4 separate regions of the Homo sapiens genome follow, and all the other regions are linked to region 4. Evidence: promoter capture Hi-C in 16 types of primary human blood cells and fetal thymus (Javierre and others, 2016). All regions are on one chromosome and are shown on one strand. Each heading gives the region's core, a stretch centred on a gene start or on the middle of the fragment in contact. The rest is flanking DNA. Distances are from core to core; before and after follow the strand shown.

The links. Contacts are between HindIII fragments. The CHiCAGO score rates a contact against its expected background, and 5 or more counts as called.
Region 1: a fragment that was not itself captured here is called in contact with the fragment with the promoter of ANOS1 in region 4 in 5 of 17 cell types (M0 macrophages, total CD8 T cells, M2 macrophages and 2 more); the score reaches 10.0 in M0 macrophages.
Region 2: a fragment that was not itself captured here is called in contact with the fragment with the promoter of ANOS1 in region 4 in 10 of 17 cell types (M2 macrophages, naive B cells, M0 macrophages and 7 more); the score reaches 11.4 in M2 macrophages.
Region 3: a fragment that was not itself captured here is called in contact with the fragment with the promoter of ANOS1 in region 4 in 4 of 17 cell types (M0 macrophages, M2 macrophages, naive CD4 T cells and 1 more); the score reaches 6.8 in M0 macrophages.

What each region holds. Positions count from the first base shown.
Region 1 is chrX:7,969,712-7,974,307 of GRCh38, reverse strand. The region is part of intron 1 of LOC107985675 (a long non-coding RNA gene); the gene reads right to left. Among named protein-coding and RNA genes, the nearest start is that of PNPLA4, 45 kb to the right of the region's middle. The HindIII fragment of the contact is 205 bases long and covers 3,063-3,267 here.
Region 2 is chrX:8,009,630-8,014,442 of GRCh38, reverse strand. All of the region lies in intron 1 of LOC107985675 (a long non-coding RNA gene), which reads right to left. Among named protein-coding and RNA genes, the nearest start is that of PNPLA4, 85 kb to the right of the region's middle. The HindIII fragment of the contact is 997 bases long and covers 1,038-2,034 here.
Region 3 is chrX:8,040,855-8,045,442 of GRCh38, reverse strand. All of the region lies in intron 1 of LOC107985675 (a long non-coding RNA gene), which reads right to left. Among named protein-coding and RNA genes, the nearest start is that of MIR651, 84 kb to the left of the region's middle. The HindIII fragment of the contact is 1,129 bases long and covers 2,657-3,785 here.
Region 4 is chrX:8,728,907-8,734,106 of GRCh38, reverse strand. ANOS1 (anosmin 1) reads left to right here and starts at 1,970. Exons shown (of 14, transcript NM_000216.4): 1 at 1,970-2,277. The coding sequence starts at 2,071. RefSeq lists an enhancer at 5,064-5,200. The HindIII fragment of the contact is 4,315 bases long and covers 27-4,341 here.

The sequences.
Region 1 (4,596 bases), core at 1,916-4,415, 760 kb after region 4:
GCTGCAGCTGTTTTAAAAAACGAAATTTAGTAAGTGTGATACACATTTCTTCAAATAAAATATTCCAGTAATTACATCAATCTTGAGTTATTAAGATTAAATACGCACTACTTACAGTCTCTGACACAATTTTATTTTGGAACACAGCGATTTATTTTTCAAGTTGACACTCTTCACCAACCAAAAAGAATTCTTTCATGATACTCTTCCAAGTCCTGGATACTCTACAACAAAAATTCTAGTTCACTGACTAACCACCGCTTTACATCTCACGTTTTAAACAGGGTAAATTAAATGTCAAAAGGAAACAGCTTTTCATATTCAAAGGATGCTGGTTATTTATTTCAAATTTAAAAACTGTAATCAATGCATGGACCTCCAAATACCCACTTAAATTTTGTAATGCCAGATTTCAGTGAAATATTATTATTATGGCAGTTCCATCAGTCATGTACTTTGCTTGAAAAAAATGAGTTGATGAACATCTTAAGGTCAAGATGGAGCAAAGACAGAAAAAAACTGGCAGTCTGATATTATAAAATAACATATTTTTTCACCAGGTAGTAACCCATTTATTATTGCTAATAGTCCACATAACACAGTTTCCATTGAAGGGATAAACTTCTCTGTGATACTGAAATGGCATCCTTCACTGGGTAATACCAGAGGTTCATTGCCTCATGCCAGGGAAATAAAGGACATGGACAACCCGAGGAGTAAGTTTAAGAGTGGAGGTTTAATAGGCGAAAGAAAAACAGAATAACTCTCTTTCCTGCAGAGAGAGAGGGGTGCTACCCAAGTGGGTCTTCGATTTTGTGGTGAAGTGCATGGGGTTTTACGACTGACTTGAGGAGGCGGTGTCTAACTTACATAGGACTCAAAGATTGGTTGGACCAGGTGTGATGTTTATATAGCACGCAAAGAACCTGGCTGCCCCATGCTAATCTTTTTATTATGCAAATGGGTTTTCTAGTGGGCTAGTGAGTGCCATGTTGTCTGCTCCCTACTGCACATGTGGTTGGCAAGGAAAGGGGAAGATGGAGCCACCATGTTGGACATGCCTAGCTTCCAGGTAGCCTTTTCCTATTAGCACAGCTGCCGGCATTCACCCGTGTAAGCTTCCAGCTTGGTTATCTATGTCTGCAGCTCAATTTTACAGGCTGCTCTCTGTTAGAAAAGAAATTATTTGGGGGCTTCTTTTCATTAAAAGGGAAACCTTACCAAGGCTGGTATCAAACCATGGGCAGAAGTAGCCATAAGGGCAATCTCAGATGAGCACCCAAATTTGTAATCTCCCAATAGGTTCACCTTGCCTGCTACCCAGACAAAGTCGATCTCTCAAGATGGGAACTGCAATAGAGAAAGAGAAATTCACACAGAGCCAGCTGTGCAGGAGATCAGAGTTTTATTATTACTCCAGGAGCAGAGTCTTTAAGGAGAACTTGGTGGGTGGGGTGAAGCCAGTGAGCCAGGAGCTCTAATTGGTGAGGGATGACATCATAGGGAGTTGAAGCCGTCCTCTTGTACTGAGTCAGTTACTGGGTCAGGGGCACAGGATCAGATGACCCAGTTTACTGATCTGGGAGGTGCCAGCTGATCTGTCACATGCAGGGTCTGCAAAATATCTCAGGCACTGATCTTAGGAGCAGTTTAGGGAGGCTCAGAATCTTGTAGCCTCCAGCTGCATGACTCCTAAGAAACAATTTCTAATCTTGTGGCTAATGTTAGTCCTACAAAGGCAATCTAGACCCCAGGCAAGAAGGAGACCTCCTTTGGGAAAGGGTTGTTATCATCCTTAGTTTAAACTATAAACTGAGTTTCTCCCAAAGTTGGTTCACCCTGAGCCCAGGAATGAACAAGGACAGCTTGGAGTTTGGAAGCAAGATGGAGTCGATTAAGTTAGATCTCTTTCACTGTCTCAGTGATAATTTTGCAAAGGTGGTTTCAGGGGCAGAATTGGAATGGGGACAAAACAAAACAAAACAAAAATTCCAATTAATTATACCCTGTATTATACAAACAGTGAAAAAGAAAAATAAGGACAATGAATGTAGAGTTCAGGAAAAGATTTAGTGCATTTTTACACCCTTTTCCTATTGCATTTTCTTCATTTGGTTTATATTTTGCTCTTTCCAAGTTAGATGCTTGCTTATTTTAGTTGCTCTACATAATACCTGCTTAGTAAGCAGTCAATAAATATCATTGAAATTGACATTCCAAAAGACCCAAGTCCTAACAAGAAATCTCAAAAGAAAGGAAAATAAGTCCACAAACTGTCATGATAATCATGTGATATAATAAAATATAAAACCGTAGCAAGTACAGTTTGCCATAATTTATAGAATGGGTATGTTCCCAAGCTGTCGAAAGCTAACACAGTATTTTGAAATCATAGAACAAGACTTCACAAAATTCCCTGATAAAAGTAAGTGTGGATTTGAAACTGCTTTTGCAAAAATTATAACTGAGGAAATTATGACAGTGAAAGAAATCAGACCTAACTGGCCCCATCCTGCTTCTAACCTTTAAGCTGTCCTTGTTCATTCCTGGACATAGGCCGAACTAACCTTGGGAAGAAATTTAGTTTCTCATTTAACTCTGAAACAAAATTGATAATGGCCCTTACCCAAATAGACCCCTTCTTGTCTGGGGACCAGTCTGCCTTTGTAGGACTAACAAAGTAGCTTTAAGATTATAAATTACTGTTTAGGAGTCATGCAACCTCTTGCTTCAAGTGTCTGAACCTCCCCAAATTGCTCCTGGAGATAACACCACTATTGTAAAACCTAAGATCAATTCTTGAGATATTTTGCAGACCCTGCCCTTGATGGATCAGCTAGGTCCAATAATGCAGGAATAATTAAGGGAAAGGTAAGATGGGGAGTGGATGAGCTCAGATCTCTTTCACTGTCATAATTTTCTCATTGATATAATTTTTGTAAAGTCAGTTTCACAATTTGTGGAATGGTCACTGTGCAACACATTATGCCAAGTATCCTTGGCTGCATTCCAAGATAAAAGGGTAGAAAGAATGGAAAGAACAGTTACAACTTCAGAAAGCTTCAGTGTTCATCAATGGGCAAGAATCCCTGTGATAAGAAAATGCTGTTACATTCTTTAAGTGATGGTCCTAGATCATGATTTATGTGAATTATGCCCTTTCAGTGCTTTCTTCAGCTTTTACCTAGAGATTCTGTACTTTCTAGTTTATAGTGGTTTTAGTAATCTCTGTTTAAATGGAGTCACACAAAACCATTGAAGAAAGCTTCACTGAGATGTTTGTTTCCAACATTTTTATTTCCATATATTTTAGGTTTAAACAATCTGATGCATTTTATCAGTATAGCTAGCTCTTTAGTAACCTCCATCACAACCATTCTTTAACATGTGCGATCTCTGTCTTTCGATCTGTCCCTAACTTCACTTGTATAACAAATCTTTAGGATCGCAACACCGAGAGAAGTTGTACAGTGCTATTCTAATTTGGGCTTATTGACTTACAATGCAATTTCATTCTATTTAACACATGCTTTCTTTGATTGGGCTGGTTGTCACCGGGAAAAACTCAGATTTACGTATTTTTAAAGTGAACCTGACAAGTAATTCTAATCATGGAAGAATTACCAACTTTCTCCTGAAGGTAACTTGTACAAGATTAAGCAATGTTCTCATGCTGACAGGTCACCTGATGATGCAATGATTAAGTTTACGCTTTTAACCCCTTTAGGACATTAATTATATTCCTTTGAACTTAGCCCCTTCTCCTTTTAATTTCTGTCATGTGCCCAGAAAAGACAGTTCTATTTTGCTGTGTACTGCAAAATCAAAAAAGGTTTGAGTCCAGAAATTTCATAGTACACAGGAAGTACAGAACTCACGTCTCCAAAATCCAGGTATATTCTCCTTAAAGGCCTCCTAATCTCATATGCCAAACCATCAATTGAAAAGTTCATATAAATACAAATATGGCTAAAATCATATAAATGCATCACATACATGCTCTGTGCATTTATGCCGCATGCTGTATTTTGCTTCCATTATTTATTTTCATTTCAATAGCTTTGGGGGTACAAGTGGTTTCTGGTTACATGAATGAATTGTACAGTGGTGAGGTCCAGGCTTTTAGTGCATCCATCACCCAAATAGCATACATTGTACCTAACAGGTAATTTTTCATTACCTCCTACCATTCTCTCCTCTTCTGAGTCTCCAATGTCTATTGTACTACTCTGTATGTTTTTGCATAGTCACAGCTTAGCCCCCACTTGTAAGTGAGAACATGTGGTATTTGCTTTTCCATTCCCGAGTTACTTCACTTAGGATAATAGCTTGCAATTCCATCCAAGTTGCTGCAAAGGGTATTATTTCATTCTTTTTTCATGGCTGAGTAGTATTCCATGGTGTGTGTGTGTGTATGTGTATAAAACACACTTTCTTTAGCCACACATCAGTTGGTGGGCACTTAGGTTGATTACATATCTTTATAATTGTGCACTGTGCTACGATAAACATATGTATGTGGGTTCTTTATTATATAACGACCTCTTTTCCTTTGTATAGATACCTAGTAGTGGGATCACTGGATCAAATAGTAGA
Region 2 (4,813 bases), core at 287-2,786, 720 kb after region 4:
CACCCACTTTGGGGTAGGGTTAGCATGGGCAGGTCCCACTGTGCTGGATCCTATGGTCCAAGTGACTGGATTAGAAGTAGATTCCAAGTGACTCAAAGGAGAATAAAGAATTCCGTTAAAAAATCAGAATACTACAGAAGTATTCTAAAAGGATATTATTTTTGATATACTTTCAAAAACCACAGAATTATAATGACGGAAAGTTAATTTTCTGGACTGCGCACAGTGACTGACAACATGATCTTTGGGATTTTGGCTGCCAGAGCCACCACAACTGCACAATCTACAATCTATGAACAGAGTGATGCTGATCTCCAGGTCTCTCAGGCTGAGAAAACGCCATACATTTCATGAACCAGAAGTCATTTCGAGGCAGGGAGAGAACATTTGAAAAGAAGGCAGTAAAATAAGGCATAAAACAATGATGGAATTTTCCAAGACACTTTGGTAGTGTAAACCTGTGACAACCAATCCTGAGGACGAGAGACTTTGCTACTTCCATCTGCAAATCAGCTGAGATTTCTGGGTAAATGATAATTTCTTGGATATTATTATTGCAAGGTGGTTCTGTTTTGATAGGTTTGGGAAAGGCACTTGGGTTGTAAATTCTAATTTAGGGACAATTTATAAATACAATTAGTTCATTGTTTATTTCTCAATAAATAGTAAGGATTTTATTATAATGTGTTAATTTTCCCATCTTCAGGCAACCCCAACTGTTTTTACTTGATATGAACTAATAAATTGTATTGCCATTATTTAATTTCTATCTTAAACATGTACAAAATAATAGCTTTTGGATGCACAGCCACTTTAAAAATTCACATATTTGGCCGGGCATGGTGGCTCACACCTGTACTCCCAGCACTTGGGAGGCCGACACAGGCAGATCAGCTGAGGTCAGAAGTTCGAGACCAGCCTGGCCAACATGGCAAAATCCCTTCTCTACTAAAAATACAAAAATTAGCCAGGCCCGGTGGTGTGCACCTGTAATCTCAGCTACTCAGGAGGCTGAGGCAGGAGAATCACTTGAAGCTTGGAGGTGGAGACTGCAGTGAATCGAGATTGTGCCACTGCACTCTAGCATGGGCAAAAGAGCAAAACTCCATCTCGGAAGAGGAAAAAAAAACACATATTGCTTACAAGACTATAATTCTGCACTAAATATCATAGCTTATCTGCCAAAATTTACAGTATCTAACTCAGAAATACTGTTCCCTCGAGACAAATTGGATCTCAAATATTTCTGCTGAATGATTTATTGTATTTCAGATCATGGAGAACAACCAGGATTAAGCTAAGGCCAGGACCTTCATGGAAAATAAAGGTTAGAATACAGACTCTAACGTAAAAATTCCAAACCTGAAGACCCAATGCAGGTTCAAGGCAGGGAACTTTGGATCAGAAAGTTTAACCCCTGAGAAGGGGTTAAAGGAAGAGAATTGGTGGAGAGGAGGAATCATCTAGGGTAACTGATGACAACAAGACAGCACATTTGAAATTCACCTGTATAGGCAAGAAGTTGCAAGGCACATAAAAAAGTTGGATTGGCCAGAAGGAAGTAGACAGTTCTGATCCATCCATGCCTTGCCATGTGTTATCTGTGTTTGTTTATGAAGGTATCCACTCATTTATCCATTTATCATTCATTTAATAGTAACTTATTGAAGTCATCTGTGAGAGAATTCTTGCAGAAGAGAACATCTGGCTTTTAGTATCCAATATACTTTTGGATACTAACTTTGTATTCAACTTTCCCCTACTTTGTAAATACCAATAGCTCCTACTATTCACTGAGTGGTTACAAATGCTAGAAACTGTGCTAATAACCATGTAATGTAGATATCACTATTTCCTATTTACATATGTGGAAACAAGTTTGAGAAAGCAATGTGCCCAAAATTACAGAGCTACTAAAGAATGTAGCCAGGCTTGGAAATGATTCCAGCAATTTCTTATCTCCTACCAAAATGTCTCTGAAAAATAAGAAAGACAAAATCTCACACCACCACTAAAACCTCTTTCATAAAAGCTTTTTGATTTGACCACTCCAATTCTCAGGGCAGGCAAGAAGAATTTCAACTCGCAATAAGGATGATGGAGGTTTTAAAAAGAAAAAACAAAAAACAGTGCAATCAACCTAAAGCCAAGTGAAATCATGTGGCTATCATGGTAATCTAATAATTTGGTGTACCTTCGAAATATGTTATCTAAATATCTGTCCACTATTTATTAAATGGAAGCAGAGAAAATACTTTTTAGGCAAATAGCATAAATCTATTATTCTGTGTTCAATATAAAAAATGTATTTCAGGCAGGCAACATAATATTCTAACTTACTTGGTAGGATCATACTAGGTTAATCACTGATTCTCATTAAGAATAAAGTTTAGGCTCTGTGAAACTGGAAGTATACATTAAATATAACTCAGTGTAGGAGGTGGGGATTAATTAAACTACCCTAGTCGAGAGAGAAAGAATTTTGCAATAGACGTTACCAGGAAACTTGGTTAAAATTTTGGGTAAAATAAACAGATTTAGAGTTTTATATCATATCAAACACAAATTTTAAGCCCAAAATTGTTTAGAGAATTTAATTAAAACTATGACCCATAGGAGAAAAAAATAGATAAGTATCTGATCTTCTTGAGGTGAATGATTTTTAAGCATTTAAATAGGAGAAAAAGATTCATTTTCTGTCATAATTATATACTTATATATAATTATCCCATATATTTATATGTAATTATAAATATATGTAAACTTTTCCAGACATTTATAAAGGTTATCTTAATCTTTTGAGAATTAGAAACTTAACCATCAATCCCACTAGTGGATGTATATTGAAAGGAGGTAAAATCAGTATGTCAAAGAAATATCTGCCCTCCCATGTTCATTTCCACGTTTTTCACAATAGCCAAGATATAGAATCAACTTATGTGTCTATCAGTAAATGAACATATAAGGAAAATGTGGTATACATACACAATGGATGTGATGTGATTTTTCTCAATGGAGTATTGTGTATATATACAATATGTTGTGCATATATTGTGTATATATATACAATATGTTGTGTATATATTGTGTATATATCTACAATATGTTGTGTATATATTGTGTATATATACACAATGGGGTAATTCTGTAATGAAATTCTGATTCAGCCTTAAAAAAAGAGGAAATGTCTGTAATGTGCAACAATATGGATGAATCTGGAGGGCATTTTGCTAAGTGAAATTAGCCAAGCACAAAAGGACAAATACTGAATGGTTTCACTTATGTATGGAATCTTTAAAAAGTTGAACTCATAGAAGTAGAGAGTAGAGTGGTCATTATTAGTGGTTAAGGGGAAGATAGGGTTTGGGTTGGGGAGATGTTGGTCAAAGGATTCAAAATTTCAGTTAGGCAGGAGGAATAAGAGACCTACTGTACATCATGCTCACTATATAACAATGTACTGCATACTTGAAAATCACTGAGAGAATAGATTTTAAGTGTTCTTACCACAAAAAAATAAGTATGTGAGATCATACATATCTTAATTAGCTTGAGTTAGCCATTCCACATTGTATACATATTTCAAAACAACATGTTGTACATGATAACATACATACAATTTTTATTTGTCAATTTAAACATGGATTTTTTAAAAATATTTAAAAAAACAGAATGAGAACCTCTAGCAACACTCTCAGGCATGTTTTTCACAAAAGTGAATTGCACTCTTAACCTTGGGAACCAGTTGTCTTTTCCTGTGTCATGTTTGTGTAGTTCACTCACACTAGGATATACACCCTTCTTGGAGGGATCTGTCTTGGTCATCTTTGGATCTGAGGCAAAAAAACAGCTTGGTACGTCATAGGTGATTTTTATTAGGTTGGTGCAAAAGTAATTGCGGTTCAGGTTTAGAAAAAGTCCTTATCTCTTTTGTTTGTTTCAAATTTATCTTAACATTTTGCTAACAGTCCCTCTCAGAGAAGCCCCATTCCTATGCTTTCCTGGAGCCTGCTTCTTTCTCTCAGGCCTTGGTTAGTAGGCCCTCCTCTCCACACCAGCATGTGAATCTTTTAAGAAGCCTAAGCGCCAATGCTTTTTCTAGAGCTCCGCTAATGATCTGACTTTTCCACTCCCTGCAGTTCCTCCCAAGTCCTGTAGGCCTTTTTATCAGTGGCTCTTTTACTCCTTACCAAAAATATTTCCTCATTCCTTTTTAACTCTTGAAATGGAATCGAGAGGGAGCATAGATGACCTACACGTATTATTATAAACATTACAGGAAATAAGGCCCATTGCAATATAAAGCAGAAATAAAGACAATATGATTTATGTTACATTTTAAAATATGTAAATGTTAGGGCACAATGGCACTCGAATGCAGAATAAGGTTGTTATATGCTTGCTCCTATTAATAAGAACAATCTCTTCAAATGAATAATATGTTTTTTTTTAAAATGGATATTTTGAAAACAAAAGTGTATTTGTGCATAGTTGTAAATGTGCCATAAATACATAAACTTCACCTGCAGCCTGACGTATGAATATAGACCAACAATTCAAACAACAAGAGGCACTGTCAAAAGTGATATGATTTTCTCAAGCAGAAAAACACTCTTAATGACATACTGAATAAAATAAAGTGAAATATATTTCCTCAAGGCCAGGTGCAGTGGTTCATGTCTGTAATCCTAGCACTTCGGGAGGACAAGATGGGAGAATCACTTGACACCAGGAGTTCAATACTAGACTGAGCAACACAGTGAGACCCCATCTCTATAAAAAATAAAAAAATATTAGCCAGGCATGATGATGT
Region 3 (4,588 bases), core at 1,972-4,471, 690 kb after region 4:
TGTGTTCAGATCACCTTTGCCTTAAGGGAAAAGCAAAACAAAAAGAACTGCCGCCTTACCACTTCTCCCAGCTGGGCTGCACGTTTTCTGTTTTCTTGTCCTGAGCCTGTTACCTCTCCTTCCCTCCCACACCTCCCTCTTCAGACGCCTGCAGCATGGCTCCATCTCTTACCCACTGGCACCAGTTCCCCAGGGCTGAGGATAAGCTCCATGCTCAGATCTAGCAGCCTGTTCCTGCCATTTCCTCTTCATTCTCTTTCAGCTCTGTTGGCCGCCCACCCTGTGCTTTCGCTTTCTTGGCATCTGATACGGTTTGGCTGTGTCCCCATCCAAATCTTATCTTGAATTGTAACTCCCACAGTTCCCACATGTAATGGGAGGGACCCAGTGGAATGTAATTGAATCATGGAGGCGGGTTTTTCGCATTCTGTTCTCATGATAGTGAATAAGTCTCACAAGAGCTGATGGTTTTATAAAGGGGAGTTCCCCGGCACATGCTCTCTCTTGCCTGCCACCATGTAAGACATGCCTTTCACCTTCTGCCATGATTGTGAAGCCTCCCCAGCCCCCAGCCACATGGAACTGTGAGTCCATTAAACCTCGTTTTCTTTATAAATTACCCAGTCTTGGGTATGTCTTTATCAGCAATGTGAAAACAGACGAAGACAGCACCTCTGGTAGCACATTCTTGCTGTGTGTTGCTGACCTGGCATCATGGCTCTCTCTCCTCACTACCTTATTCCTTAATGCTGAGTGTCTATGAGGCTCTGTTTCTGGTTTTCTCTATGGTTCTCCATCTTCATCCCTTTACAAATAAATCCAGTCCCTTCTGCGACAGCAACCTCCATAGCAGGGTAAGTATAGGTAACAATAATCTACTGTGTGTGTCAAAATAGCTAGAAGAGCAGATCTGAAATGTTTGCAGCATTAAAAAATGACAAATTTCCAAGGTGACGAATATCCTAAATACCCTGATTTGATTATTACACATTCTATGCATGTATCAAAATAACACATACACCCCATAAATATGTACATTATGTATCACAAATAAACAAATAAAAATGTCTAGGTAATCAGAAAACAACCTACAATGATAATAATAGTAATAAATCCCATCCAAATACCTGCAGACCTCAGGCCTCCCCTGTGTGCTGCTCCTAGATCCTCAGTTCCTAGGCTGCTTGACTCTGTCTACTTGAGTGCATCGCAAATGGAACCATCCTCTTTCCTAAAAATGTGCTGCTTCTTTCCAACATTCTTGGCCACACTACAATTCTGCTGGGCTGCTAGGAAACGTAGAATGTGTGACTATCTTTGATAGTTCTATTTCCTTTTTCTTCCGTGAGCACAAACTTGCTCTATTATCTAGTAAGGTGCAAGATATTCTAATATCCCTTTGATTGATTCTTTCCAATTTTTCTGAACAGACTATTCATTTTTCCTGTGTCTAGAGATGCTGCCGCCTTACCCCACCTACTCATGCCGGAAGCTTGAATGAGAACTTATTTCATTTCCTCTTCTCTCCAGCCCTGAACCTCTGCTTGTCTTTCAAGGGCTCTTATAATTTCCCTGTGATTCCCTTAATGTACCTTCCATTCCAGTGACAGCTTTCTCCTCATTATAATGCCAATCCTTCCTTTTTATACTGGGAAGACAGGTTGCCTCATGCCTTTGGTATAAGGCAATTTCCTGTCTCTCACGTTAGTCCCCATTACATCTGCTCTGAAAAATCGTTTTGTTTCCAGAAGCTCTAAACATATTTCAAAGCCCTTTAAGTTCCACCTCCATGAGGGTGTCATTTCTGATTAGGTGAACACTCTCCTGTCCTCCTATTGAAATCCTATGGCACTACCCTCTATAGTACTTGAATGCACTTGAATTTAGTATGCCACCCAACAGCCACCCTCCCCTTCCTCCTTATTTCACAACCATGACGTTGAGGATGACAATGTATCCAATTAAAATATGCAGCTTCCCAGATTTCCTTGCAGCTGGGGGTAGCCATAGGAAGATGAAGGCAGACCTGCAGATGTGTGTCTTTTTTCTTGAGACCCAGTTTCTACCTGCCTACATCTTATACCTAAGCTCGGAGGTACAGGAGTCATCATGCAAGAATTCCCAGTGGCAGAGTAGGAAAGTTCTAAGGCCCTAAGTCATGATCAGCAAAGCAGCCTCAGGCTACCTACATCCCGAGTTCTTGTTATGTGAGAAGAAAAATAATCTAAGAAAAATAATCTATCAAAGCCCTACTCCTTGAAGCAGCTCTGGCTTCATACTGCTGTTACAGCTGGTATGCTACAATATTTTGGTGCTGTACAACAACTGTGTATTGTTACCAATGTCATGTGTTTTTAATTTTCCATCCTCAACTATGAGAACTTATGAAAATCAAAAGTAAAAAGAAACTAAATGAATATAGCCTTTCTAGACTATTTTCTTCAGGTTCACTTTCATCCATCAACTCAATATCTTGTTTTGCAAATTGTGTTCTCCAACATCTAAGAGTTCAGAAGCTAATAAATGACACCTCTGAATAGTGACAGTCATTAAGTTAACCATCTCACTTAGCTTCACTATAGGAATTGCACATTTTGCCACAATATGTGGACAAAACTGCCAGATTAACCATATATCATTATCAAACGCAGAAGCTTAAGTGGTCCAGATTGTTTTTGGCAATCTAGTTAGACTTATTCATTTTAACCTGTGTATTACATTCTTTTCACCTTATGACTTGGCCCTGCGCCCTTTCTGATTCTGCTCTTTCTAGTTTGGGATAAGGGACTGTACTCACTGTGTACCAAATTAGAGCAGGTATCATATTATGTGCAGGGCTCAATCTAGTTGTCTGTGGATGGGTTTATTGTTCCTTCAATGGGCTGTGAACTAACCCTTTTCCACTTTTCCTCTCCTCAATGCAGCCTCCTAAGGAGAACATGGGTACTGCAAGTGAGTCAGCAGTGGAAACTTAGAAGGTCTCATCAGTAAAGGCAGGACAGGACAGAAGGAGGCCTTGGGGCCCTTTGCTCTTTCATGATTTTCAATGGTTTCCTCTCAATAGTCAAGAACTGCTGAATGTGTCAGGAGAGAATGCTTGGGAGGGATGAAAGACATCCCTATAGGCCTTCATTCCCCTGAAATGCAATCCTTTTGTCACCTTCGCAAGAAGAGCTCTTTGTAGAAGAGGGCAGGTGTCATCGGTCCTCTCCCAATGGAGCCTTTAATGCTGCCCAGCTCAGCCACGGGATCTGCCTGTTTACTGATCCCTCTCTGATAAGGGCTGTCGATAAAGGGGCACTGTCCTTGCAGGACCTAATGAGGAAGCCTGCTCAACCACACACCTGTCACCCCGTATTCTGAGCCAGAGTGGTGCCTGCTGAGCAGGCAACCGGCTCAATGGGTGCAGTGGCCCATGACTGGCGCTCAGTGAATGGCTTCACAACCACCCTGGAGACTTCTTAGGTTTGACAGGAGAAAGCAGACAAAGGAGAGAATGGGCTCATGCATTTGCAGCATGGATCCATATATTGGACTGCAAACTCAAGAGAAACTCAGAAACATACACACAAACACACACACACATAGACCAAACACACTCAACAACAATGGGATGCGTGCTGACCTCTGCACTGAAATACCATCAACTTAGTCATAAATGAAATCATTAGAATTATCACAAACCACAGCCTATACAATTTAAGTATCTTCCATTGCATTGTGTACATATGTGTGTGTGTGTGTGTGTGTATTTCAAATAATACTTGATTTAATCAAGTTAAGCTTGATTAAGACAGGATAATAATGTGAAAACTGAAGAAAGATATCTGTGTTCAAATCATCAGGTTTTATTTGCAGAAAGGGGGTAGAAAATTAAAACCCAAGTTATTACTCATAACTATACACTTTTAACAAAGAATAATTAAAATGTATGGTTCTGAATTAATCCCAGATTAACTGACTGGCATCAGTAATAAATTAGCTATTACTAATTACCCTGCCACATATGTAAGTGGCCCCACAATTCCCCAGCACAACAATGGGCTTTAACAAATCTTATGGCATACTGGTGTGCCGTGCACTACATAGCAGCATTTCACATAGAAGCAGGGGAATTCCTTAATTTCCTCTCATGGGGAGTTCTCACTCGGGAATAGCTTAGCCATAGTTTCACTTGTTTACTCGCACTCTGATTAGCTGACATCCCTTCCTGTCTTCATAAAGCATCCAACTTGGTCTTTGAAAGTGTCTAAACTTGTCTGAGACTCAGATTTTTACTTTTAACAAGGGACTATTTAGGGTGTTTAAGGGGCTAACATCCAAAAGCTGTCTTCATAGTAGACATTTAAATATTAAATAACAAACTCCCATTATTCACATACTATGTATAGAGTTTAGGTCATTTTATAAAAAATTAAGTCTATTTACAAAATTCACAGATAAATTTGGTGTCTAAGCAGTAGAGTAAAATTCTATGTTTCTTTGAACACATTAGCTATGTTAATCCACCTTATTTAACTCCAATTCGGTTTCCAGTGATTCTAGTGTTATGTAGTAAGTATTTTCTGACAACTGCCACACTTGGGTA
Region 4 (5,200 bases), core at 721-3,220:
AACAAATCATTGAAGTCGTGTAAGCTTATGCCAAAATTACTAGGTTTCCAGCCCAAGTAAAGAGTGGCCCCAACCTTTTTGGCACCAGGGACTGGTTTCATGGAAGACAATTTTTCCATGGACCTGGGGGTAGCAAGTGATGGCTTGGGGATGAAACTGCTCCATCTCAGATCGACATTAGATTCTCATAAGGAGTGCGCTACCTAGACATCTCGCATGCATAGTTCACTATAGGACTGAAGCTCCTATCAGAATCTAATGCTGCCACTGATTTCTCACCTGAGGCACAGCTCAGGCAGTAATGTTCCCTGGCCTGCCGCGGCCCAGTTCCTAACAGGCCACTGTCATTGTGAAGAGTTTCAGGATGGTGATGGCAGAACAGGCCTTCTAAGAGTGCGACTGTACCATTGTACAGCTTGCATGTCCATGAAACTGGCTTTGCCTATAGAACCTTTTGAACAAGATGACCCTGATTTTCTAATTCGCTGAGAAACACACCAAGGCCAATTAATTTGACTGGCCTTTCTGATTTAAGCTATGTGAAGAAATACACATGTAAGATGATGTATTTGAAAAGCACTCATAATAGGATAGCTGCAGATGGCTGTCATTGCAATTTGTTAACAGGCAGATCTCAAAATTGCAGAGTGGAACCTGTGTATAAGAATAGGGAAAAGGGTGGGAAATTGCAAAACAACTATATAGGCTTTGTGCAAAGAGGATTCCAGCCTTCTGATGTAGCTTTGAGTAGAGCGAGTGCATCTAGATACCCTGACTGTGCTTAGCTGGGTGCTTATAGAGATCCCGTTTTCGAAGGTGAAAGTGCAATTGGGTAGGAGAGGGTGGAGATGTCAGAGCAAAGGAACAGCAGTCAGTTGTTGTCCATTCGAATAGGAGTGTGCCTGGGTCTTTTTTCTCTGGGCTCTCCTACCTGCAAGGGGACTGTCACTTCCTGATGGGGCTCAGGGGAGTGTAGAGCTTTGTTACAAGTTGTGTCTTATCAATGCCTCCTGTCTTTCTGTGGCAGGATCCTGGCTGGGGAGGGAGAATTTGTGTGCTGAGAGAACACTAGACAAAAACGACAGGAGAGGACGGAGCAGCCATTCCAAAGCTAAAAAGCCTGAGTCAAGAGGCTCGGGCAAATCGTGGGGAAAGAAAGAGATTAAGACGCAAGTCTATTTAGAATAAATCACTCACTTTGGGGCGTGCAAGGCTTACTAGAAAAACAGACACCTGAGGAAACAAGGCGTGTGGACCTAAAGGTGGTTAGCTATGCACTGAGACTGTCTCCAGGGAAAACAGTGCGGGAGGGAGGGAGGGAGGGATGCGGGAAGGACGGAAGAAATGCAAGAGGGAGAGAAGGAGGAATTTGTCTCCGGGACACTGTAGGGCAAATGTCCACGCTCCCCTCCCCGTCTGTCTTACTGCCATTTGTTTTCTTCACTTCTTTCCACTACCTGGGCAAAGGAAATTCGAATATGTGAAAGCGTGGGAAAAGCCTGGACCCAGGGGAGGTCGGGGAGAAAGCAAGCCACTTAGGGGCGCGGGGTCAATCCCCAGGCAGGTGGGACGCCCCTGGGGGTCCTGAGGCCTCTTCCCTCCTGCTGAAGGGAGCACCCCTCCTGGCAGGCCTGGACCTGCTCACACCGACGTTTACCTGGACGGAGGGGGAAGGTGGGAGGGGCAGGAAGCGGTTGGTGCGAACGGGAGAGGCGCCTGCGTGGGAGCTGGGCCCCTCGAGACCTGCGCGGCGTGGAAAGCCGCTCGGCGTCGCCCTCCCCCGGAGCGCCCGGGCTCGCAGCTGACGAGACCGGCCCATGGGCCCTGCGCCCGGCCCCCCTGTCACTCACACGCCTTCCAGCCAATGGTGCGGCCTCCTGTCCCCCTCACCCCACCCCTCGAGGGCGAGCTGGGAGGGAGGTCGGCGAGGAGGGTCCGGCCGGAGTTGAAGGATTGAACTTTCCGGCTCAGTCGCGGCGTCTGCCTGGTCCTCAGCAGTGCAGCCCCGGCGCGGAGCAGGGAGCCTCGGCCCGCGCCCGGCGCCCTCGCCCTCGCCCTCGACCCGCAGCCATGGTGCCCGGGGTGCCCGGCGCGGTCCTGACCCTCTGCCTCTGGCTGGCGGCCTCCAGCGGCTGCCTGGCGGCCGGCCCCGGCGCGGCTGCTGCGCGGCGGCTGGACGAGTCGCTGTCTGCCGGGAGCGTCCAGCGCGCTCGCTGCGCCTCCAGGTGCCTGAGCCTGCAGATCACTCGCATCTCCGCCTTCTTCCAGCACTTCCAGGTACGGGGAGGCCCCCGCCCGGGTTCTTTCTGGGGCTGCGGCCGCGGCGTGGGCGCACCGGGGCGCGCGCCTCCCAGCCTGGGCTCGCAAAGTTCTCGGCCAGCGCCGCCGGCTGATCCTGGCTTCCCCTGGGCGTGGATCTTACAGTCGGGGTGCTGGAACTCTCCTTTCCAGCCTCTTCCCGGCTCCTGAAAAGAAAAAGAAGCCCGAGACATCTTGCCCCAACTCCCTCCTTCCCAGCAGGAAACCAAAGGCGATTTCCCTGGGGAGGGAGAGTCGTGGATGCTGGGAGTGGGTGTGTGGATGTGGCGGTTTCCCGGGAATTGGAGTGCGCGAGACTCCGGGCGGGCGGCGACTCCCGCAAAGTCCCAGGCGCTCCGGGGCACTGGGAGGGAGTCTGGGAGGCGCGTCCGGCTGCGCCTGGGGACCTCACCTCGAGCCCCAGCCCCGCAGGTGCCCGCGGGCCGACACTTTGTCTCTTTTGAAAGATGGTTTTCACTCTCTGAGGGCTCAGAGCTCGCTGCCCACCCTTGGAGCCCCAGCCAGGGTACTTGTGCCAAGTCGTGTTCCAGGGTGCGTGTATGCGCGTGTTGGGGGTGCGAGTGGCTGTGCGCGCCTCAATTCGGAACCCCAAAGATTCAAGGTCTTGCCCTGGACTAGCGTAGAGCGTCAGGGAAGAAGTGCCGGGGACAGGGGATTTGGCGGGGCCGTATTCGGATACTCCTCAACGAGTCCCGGGGGAACCGTCCCCCAAACCCCGAACGTAGGTTCTTTCAGCCTGAGGGTGGGGAGTATGTGTGTGTGCGCGCGCGCTTGTGTGGGAGGCTCCGGGAGCCGCGCGCTTGGCTCCAGCGGGTTGCCGGGACTCTGCCCTGTGGCGCGGACCCCCGCGGGACTTGCGCGAGGCTCCGGGTGCGGGTGGGCGCACGAGAGCAGGTTCCGGACTCAGCGCGAGCGAGTGCAGCTGCTGCCTGTACCAGCCCTGTCGAGCGTGCGAGCTCTGAAATCCTCCGCTTATTTTTCTCTTCTCTCATCCTTCTCTCCTTCTTCTTCTCGCCTCTATCCCTAGGTGCCCACCTGTTCCAAGTTCCCAATTTCTCGCTTCAGGGAAACTCTGGAGGGACCAAAAGGAGAAATGGGGGCTGGGGGGAGGGGTTCCCCTGGCTGGGCGGGAACTGGAAGCCAAACCCTTGGCTCTTAAACTGGGCGCCCCTCCTGCCAGAGCTGGGTCAAGGGGTGGGGGGGGGGGTCCCCCTAGAGGCCCTGGGAATTAAGCTGCCAGAGGAGGCCATATTAATAAGGGTGGAATGTGGAAGTGATTCCCCTTACCCTCGGGGATGATCTTGAACCGGCTGGTGAAGCTGGCGCGTTCGCGAGTGTGCAGTTGAGTTTGTTCTAAGTCGTAGAAGCAGCGTCTCGTGGGTGTCAGAGAAATGGGCACGCTCTGTAGTCCTTCTGCGTCTTCAGGGAATGGAAGACCCAGTGCTCACCTCCTGTGGTGAAATTACCCAGACATCCTGGACAGAGCCAGGAGAGGGCCGATCCCCAGGCACCTGGTTTCCAGCCCTCCGAGTCCTACCCTGAAAGTCACTCTCCTAAGATGCCACACTATTGTTTGAAACAACAGAAAACAAAACAAAACGGAGCAGCCTATTCCCAGGGAGAAAGAGTACCTTTTTTTTTTCTTTTTCTTGAATTGTCAGTGCTGTAATTTATTTGTTTTACAGTTTCAGTGGCTAAAGCACCAGCTTAGATGAAGCCAGTTCCCGTGAAAGGCTTTTCTTGTGGTCTCCTTGGCATGATTTCTCTTTGGAAGAAAAACTGCTGACAGAATGCACATTGCTAGACAATCCTGATTACATTTTAATTAGCTGGGGGTGAAATAAGCTGCAAATTACTCAGTTAAGACTTAATAAGTGCTGTGTTTGTAATCAATTGCAAAGCCATTCTGGGAGCCTTAACCCTAACCTGGTAATGCCTATCTGATTTATCTAAATTGCAGGGATTAAGTGTTTTTAAGATCTGAAAAGCCAGCAACACATTCTCCTTATAAAACCCCAAGCTTCCCTGTTCCCCACCGCTTGCCTTCCTTTTTTTTTTTTTTTTTTTTTTTTTTTAATAATTAGAAGGAAGATGGGCCGGGCGCAGTGGCTCATGCCTCTAATCCCTGCACTTTGGGAGGCCAAGGCGGGCAGATCATTTGAGGTCAGGAGTTTGAGACCAGCCTGGCCAACTTGAAATCCCGTCTCTACAAAAAATACAAAAATTAGCCTGGTGTAGTGGTGCATGCTGTAGTCCCAGCTACTCAGGAGGCTGAGGGAGGAGAATCCTTGAACCCGGGAGGCAGCGGTTGCAGTGAGCCGAGATCACACCACTGCACTCCAGCCTGGGTGACAGAGCAAGACTGTCTCAAAAAAAAAAAAAAAAAAAAAAAAAAAGGAAGGAAGGTGGAGCAATCAGTCTGCAGACAACTCATGACTGGGCTACGGGAAGTCTTAAGAAGATTGCTTTCCTACAGGGTCACCCCCGCCCCCAACTCCTGCAAATGAGCCCACCCATAAAGCTGTCTCTGGAGCAGGTGCCTGTTTCCATCTTCTCTTGCACGGTTTCAGGCCATGTTTAAGGATGGGAGAAGCTTGCCTGGCCTCCAGCCTGGATGCCCGCCAGGTATGTGGACTCTCAATTATGAAAGCTGTCAGGCCTTGCCTCAGGAGAGCGCAACCTATGCACTCATGGTGTAGGCAGTGACACAGATTCCCTGGGGCAGTGACCTGCTGTCGTCGGCCTGCAGAGGAAGCTGTCGTCTCATAGTCTGTGCCCCAGTTGTCCCCACTGTCCTCCACTGCCCAGCCCTTCAGCAACAAGACAGAAAAGCAGTGGGTAGATGTGCACACCTGACACCTCCAGGTCTGCAGGCTGTTTC